Linked DNA regions of Homo sapiens: region 1 is linked to region 2. Evidence: promoter capture Hi-C in 16 types of primary human blood cells and fetal thymus (Javierre and others, 2016). All regions are on one chromosome and are shown on one strand. The core of a region is centred on a gene start or on the middle of the fragment in contact, and the rest is flanking DNA. Distances in the headings are between cores, read along the strand shown. Region 1 overlaps LOC400499 (putative uncharacterized protein LOC400499). Region 2 holds the start of ZC3H7A (zinc finger CCCH-type containing 7A).

Region 1 (3,355 bases), core at 117-2,616, 390 kb before region 2:
GGGATGCCACCTCTTCCACGCCCTGGCCCCTTCTCCCTGCCCGGCTGCACTCAGGATAAGCCCCAGCTCCTCTCTATGAGCTGAGACGCTGCATGACCTGGGTCCCCCAGCCCTCCTGCCTCGCCTCATCCCTTCTCCCCATTCCAGCCATGCTAGCCCCGCAGCTGCTGCTCCACATGCAAACCTCATTTCCAAGTGGGGCCTTCCGCCTGAAGTGCCTCTGCTCAGATCTGCCAGCTCCTTCTCATCCTTCAGAACTCAGTTCAGAAGTCACCTCCTCCAAGAGGCCTTCCCAGACCACCCCACCTAAAGGAGGCCCACACCCCACAAAGACCCTGCTTGCTCTCACAGCCTTTCCCACTCGTGGAAATGGTCATGCTTGACGTTATTTTGCTTATGTGCATCTTGTTGCTCAATGCCTGTCTCCCTGAGGGGTGACACCTGGGCCATCTTGCTTCCTGATGGACCCCTGGTGCCTAGATTACACCTGGGATATGCAGGTGCTCAGTCATGGCTTTTTTGAGACCGAGTCTCACTCTCGCTCAGGCTGGAATGCACTGGCTCAATCTCGGCTCTCTGCAACCTCTGCCTCCCAGGTTCAAGCGATTCTCCTGCCTCAGCCTCCCAAGTAGCTGAGATTGTAGGTGCCTGCCACCATGCCTGGCTAATTTTTGTATTTTTAGTAGAGATGGGGTTTCACCATGTTGGCCAGGCTGGTCTCAAACTCCTGACCTCGAGTGATCTACCCACCTCGGCCTCCCAAAGGGCTTGGATTACAGGCATGAGCCACCGCGCCTGGCCAGGGATGATTTCTTGAGTGACTGGGCCACCCCTGCCTGCAGCCCCTCACACACTCACCCTGCAGGCTGAGGTTCCTGGTGGGCTTGGGGAAAGGCCCAGAAAGGCTCCCGGTGAGGGCCACCTCCTGGCCATCCCACAGCACCACCTGGCGCAGGACACGGGTCCCATGAGCTCGCTCGTATGCGGTCTGCAGGAACAGCTCCCTGGGAAGAGCGCTGAGCTGGAAGAGAATGACGGCGTCATGGGGGAACCCGACCCATGCTTCTGCCTGGGATGGGAAAGAAGAGAAGCTTGCAGAGGAGGAAAAAGGGAATATTTGTGGATCATTTACAGTTTCCTGAATGGTGACATATGTCAGGGGATCAAAAACCCAAATGCTTCCTAAGGATGAGCAGATAATTTAAAGGAGAGGAGTAGGTGAGGGGAGTATGGCCAACAGGAGACAGCACAGAACAGCCACTTCTCAATTCCATGGCCAAGCTGTGTGGCTCTGGGCATTTTTCAACCTCTCTGAGCCTCAGTTTCCTAGAAAATGGAGGCCAGAAAGTGTCAACCTTTGCAAGATGATACAAGTGGTGCACTCAGCCCAGGGCTACACGGTGGAGAGGAGCTTGTAGGAGGCACGCAGTTGGTATTGCGGTTTCTCAATCATGTAGCGAGCAGGTATCATGCTCCCAAGCCAGTGCTGAGTGCCTGGGTACAAAGCTAGCCAAGACCTGGTCCTGGCCCTTAAGGGGCTCCCAGGGAGATAGTCGAGATAGTCACAGGACAGAAAATGATGGGATAAGGTGACAAGGATGGTCACAAGAGACATTCAAGGGAGAAAGGAACGCAGAGAAGCAAGCTTGGGGAGGAGGCAGGGAAGAGCATTCTAGGCAGATGGAAGAGCCTGTGCAAAGGTTCGGAGAGGGACGCCGTCCCTGCTGGTGGGTGCCACAGTCCGAGGGTGACTTGAGGGCACTGCAGGGGGACTGCTGGGGTGGGGAAGGAAGTTTGCTCTTAAACGTCTCTAAAACCTATCACTACTGCCCCCAGCTTGGTCCACGCATTATTATTGCCCTGCCCCTGCCCATTATGGGGCTTCCTCACTGCTCACTTCTGCCACCTGTAGGTCCCTCCCCACACAGCAGCCAGAGGGATCTGAAATCATCATTTATTTGATCATGGCTTCAAAGGCTTCTAGTAGCAGATAGAACACAATGCAAACGCCTCCCTGTGGCCTGACTGACCCTGTGTGATCAGACCACCTCCTACCATTCCCCACCCACCCAGCTCCAGCCCAGTGGCTCCTTGGCCATTCCTAAAACATGCAAACCCATCCCTGCCCCAGGCCCTTTGCATGTCTTGTTCCCTCTGCCTGGAATACTCTTTTTAAAAAATGTATTTTAGATTGAGGGGGTCAGTGTGCATGTTTGTTACATAGGTATATTGTGTAATGGTGGGGACTGGGCTTCCAGCGTCCCTGTCACCCAAATATCGAACATCATACCAGGCAGGTAATTTTCCAACCCTTGGCTCCCTCTCACCCTCCTCCCTTTTGGAGCCCTCAGTGTTTACTGTTTCCATCTTTATGTCCATGTGTATTCAATGTTTAGCTCCTGCTTACAAGTGAGAACATGTGATACTGGGTTTTCTGTTTCTGAGCTAGTTCACTTAGGATAATTGCATCCCTGCTGCTGCAAAGGACAGAATTTCATTCTTTTTTCCGGCTGTGTAATATTCCATGGTGTATATATACCACAGTCTCTTTACCTGCCTCGAATGCCCCTCCCCCAGAGATTTCTTTTTTCTTTTCTTCCTTTTGAGATGGAGTTTCACTCTTGTCACCCAGGCCGCAGTGCAACGGCGCAATCTCGGCTCACTGCAACCTCCACATCCTGGGTTCAAGCAATTCTCCTGCCTCAGCCTCCAAAGTAGCTGGGATTATAGGCATGTGCCACCACGCCTGGCTAATTCCATATTTTTAGTAGAGACGGGGTTTCCCCATGTTGGCCGTGCTGGTCTCGAACTCCTCACCTCAGGTCATCCACCCGCCTCGGCCTCCCAAAGTGCTGGGATTACAGGCGCGAGCCACCGTGCCCGGCCTTCCCCCGGATTTTCAAATGGCTGGTGCTTATCATCCACCGCTAGCTCATGTGTCGTCTCTTCAGTGGGGCCTTTCCTGGCCACCTAATCTAAATAAGCTCCTTGGTCACTCTCAGTCACTTCAGTACGTTTTCTCCGTATCATAGTACTATCTGGCATATTTCGTTTGTGTGATTTCGGGGAGTCAATCTCCCCCGCTAGAGTGGACACTTGATGAGAGGAAGGATTGATCAGATCTGTTTTAGGTCACGCCCCAGCTTCTGAAATAGTGCCTGGCACCTAGTAGATGCTCCATAAATCATGCAATAAATCCAGCTCAATAAATCCAGCACATTGTGTCCATTTCACAGCCTTGTCTGTCCTTCCGCCCAGGAACCGGGACACTAGGACAATTTTTCTTTTCTCAAAGGGCTGTCCCAGAGGCCCCCCACCCCAGCGTGCTCCGGCCCTGGGCTGACCTCCACACACC
Region 2 (2,922 bases), core at 204-2,703:
AACTTTTGTTTTTTTATTTGTTTGTTTTGAGACAGTGTCCCAGGCTGGAGCACAAAGGCACAATCTCAGCTCACCGAAGCCTCAATCTCCTGGGCTCAAGGGATTCTCCCACCCCAGCCTTCCGAGTAGCAGATTCTCCCACCTCAGCTTCCCGAGTAGCTGACTACCGGCGTGCGCCACCACGCCCAGTTAATTTTTTGTATTTTTTGTAGAGACAGGGGTCTCACTATGTTGCTGAGGCTGGTCTTGAACTCCTGCACTCAAACGATCCTCCTGCCTCAGCCTCCCAAAGTTTTGGGATGACAGGCATGAGCCACTGCATCCTGCCAAGATTAATTTTAATGATCTATTTTCGTTAATCCAATTTGTCCCAAACATGACCATCTCAACATGCATTTAAGTATAAAAGATTACCAATGACATCTTTTACTTTCTTTCTCATCCGAAGTTTTTAAAATCAGATGTACGTTTCACAGCTGGGACCGCAACTGAAACTGGCCCCATTTCGTGGGCTCCATCGTCCCAAACGGCGGGGGGTCAGTGGCCACCGTACTGGGCATGGCAAGGTCCTTCGTGGTTCAATACCGAACACGGGCAACTCCTTTTCATCCCTAGACAGGTGGGGACAGGAAAATACCCAACTCCTGGCAAATCCACCCAGTCCCGACTCAGGCTCGACCTCGGAGGCCCCGGCCGGGCCTCAGGCGGCCCCACCCCTTTGCTGCCCAGGCCTGACCGGAAGCCCCGCTAATGGGAACTGACAGGTCCCGGTCCCGGTCCTCCCGGGCGGCGCCCCCGCCTCCGCGGACCCCAAGGCCTCTCCCCGCCCGGCCCAGGGCTGCACCCCGCGCGAAAAAATAAAAAAATCAGAAAGGGGGGTAAAAAAGACGGATGAGCCCCAAATTAATGCGCCAAGCTCTCCGCCGGCATCCTTCCCGCCCCCAAGCCCAAGACGCTGAATCGGGATCCCCGCGATCACCAGAGCAGACAGAAATAACCAAAAAAAAAATTTTTTTTTAGTGAAATCACCAAAAAGGAGACATTTTGCCGAGGGAATGGCAGGCAGAAGTGGGTCACGTTATTCTCGGTGGGGGAAGGGGACGGCGCGCCCACCCGTCCCTCCGCGCGCACAGGCCCCGGCCCGGCTCCTCTCAGGGTCCTCTCGGGTCCGCGGGCCCCGGACCCCGCCGCCCCTCCCCCGCCCCGCCCGCCGTCCGTTAACGGCCGCGCGCGAGCACGAGGCGGCGGCGCGCGCGGGGGGGGCGGGGGCGCGGGCGCGCGCGTTTCCTTCATGCCCGGCGGCGTCCCCCTACCCCTACCTGTGGGGACGACGCGCCGGCCGGCGGCAGAAGGCAGGCGGAGGCGGGCGGCGGCAGGCGGGCAGCGGTGGCGGCGGCGGCGGCGGGGCCTGGGTGCTCGCTCGCAGCTCTCCCTCGGTTAGCGGCGGCGGCAGCGGCTCGGTTGCGCCCGCGGCGGCGCCCTCTAGCGGCGGGAGGCCGCGCTTGCCGCCCGGGAGACGCCGCCATTGGCTGCGCCGGAGCTACGGGCTGGGGGCGGTGGCGCCACGTCTGACTGGGGGCAGGGACCTGGGCGCGCCGTTCAATCCGGAGCCCCGGCGTCGACGCGCGGCCCACTGGGTGAGCCAATGGGAAGGCCACGTTGCGCACTGGACGCGCTCGGACTCAAGACTGATTAACCAGCACCGGGGTTTTCTGGGGCCTCGCCTGGGCCGCGGCCTGAGCAGAAGCGCTAGGAGGTAGAACAGCGTCCAGCGGGGAGAGGAGCTAGAGTCGGCATCGGGAAGCCCACCCTGGAGCCTGCTTAGCTTGACGAGCCCTCAACCGGGGCGCCCTGCTCTGCGAAGAGTAACCCTGCATCCTCAGAACAACCGTGATTGTCTTCATTCCTACATATGAGGAACGGAGGCGCGGAGCCCCACGGCAGCCGGGGATCCAAAGACAGCCTCCCTCCAGTTCCATCTGCCGGCTCTTGGAAGGCCTGGATCCCTGTCCTTCAGGGCCCAGCCCAAATGCCGCCTCGTCCATCTGCATTTTACGGCCAGGTGCCCCGCTGCGGGCACGGCTTCTTGTAAAATGCTCAGCTCAGCAGTGGGCGAGGCAGGGTCCCTGCCCCATGGGATGGAGGGCGGAGATCAGGACCCACAAGAGCCCAAAGAAGACCATTTTGGTCGGTGAAGACCAAAGAAATTCAAGCAGGAGGATGTGACAGGAGCTTTTGGGAAAGCCTCTGAGGAGGTGACAGCCATGCAACCGTGTTCGGGGAAGTGTGCCGCAGGCAGAGGGGAAATGAGTGCAAAAGCCCTGAAGCTGGAGTTCGGTGTCTGGATAACAGGAAAGGCCTGCATAGCTGATGTGTGCCAGAGGGGAGAAAGATCTGTGACACAGGGGGGCCGCCATGTTTAATTTGGAGTTTTGTGTGGAAGGGGGTCATTCATTGAGTCTGAATTGGGAGTTCCGAGGTCTCATTTATATTTTAGAAAGTTCTCTCCTGCTACTATGCAGAGATTGGGCTGTAGGAGAGACAAGAGGGGAAGTGGGGACTCTAGCTACAGTAGCTCTTCCAGGGGTCTGGGTGACGTAGATTTACAAACCAGAGTATTAGCTCAGGCTGCCATGACAAAATACCCCAGACCAGGCAGCTTAGACAACAGGAATTTATTTTCTCACAGTTTTAGAGGCTGCAAATCTAAGGTCTGGGTGCCGGCAGGGCTGGTTTCTGGTGAGGCCTCTCTCCCTGGCTTGCAAACAGCTGCCTTCTCACTGTGTCCTCCTATGACCTTTTCTCTGTGAGCAGGAATCCCTGGTGTGTCTTCCTTTTTCTTACAAGAACAACAATTTTACTAGATTAGGGCCCCACCCTATGACTTCATTTAACCCCAGTGACTACCTAAAAGGCCGTATT

Evidence for each region. Contacts are between HindIII fragments. The CHiCAGO score rates a contact against its expected background, and 5 or more counts as called.
Region 1: a contact is called between a fragment that was not itself captured here and the fragment with the promoter of ZC3H7A in region 2, in 1 of 17 cell types (neutrophils). The highest score is 5.1, in neutrophils.

What each region holds. Positions count from the first base shown.
Region 1 is chr16:11,403,846-11,407,200 of GRCh38, forward strand. It overlaps LOC400499 (putative uncharacterized protein LOC400499), which reads right to left. Exons shown (of 67, transcript NM_001370704.1): 47 at 3,355; 48 at 859-1,021. Among named protein-coding and RNA genes, the nearest start is that of RMI2, 60 kb to the left of the region's middle. The HindIII fragment of the contact is 554 bases long and covers 1,090-1,643 here.
Region 2 is chr16:11,795,805-11,798,726 of GRCh38, forward strand. It overlaps ZC3H7A (zinc finger CCCH-type containing 7A), which reads right to left and starts at 1,454. Exons shown (of 23, transcript NM_014153.4): 1 at 1,320-1,454. RefSeq lists silencers at 686-845, 1,328-1,737 and an enhancer at 1,153-1,690. The HindIII fragment of the contact is 5,880 bases long and covers 1-2,922 here.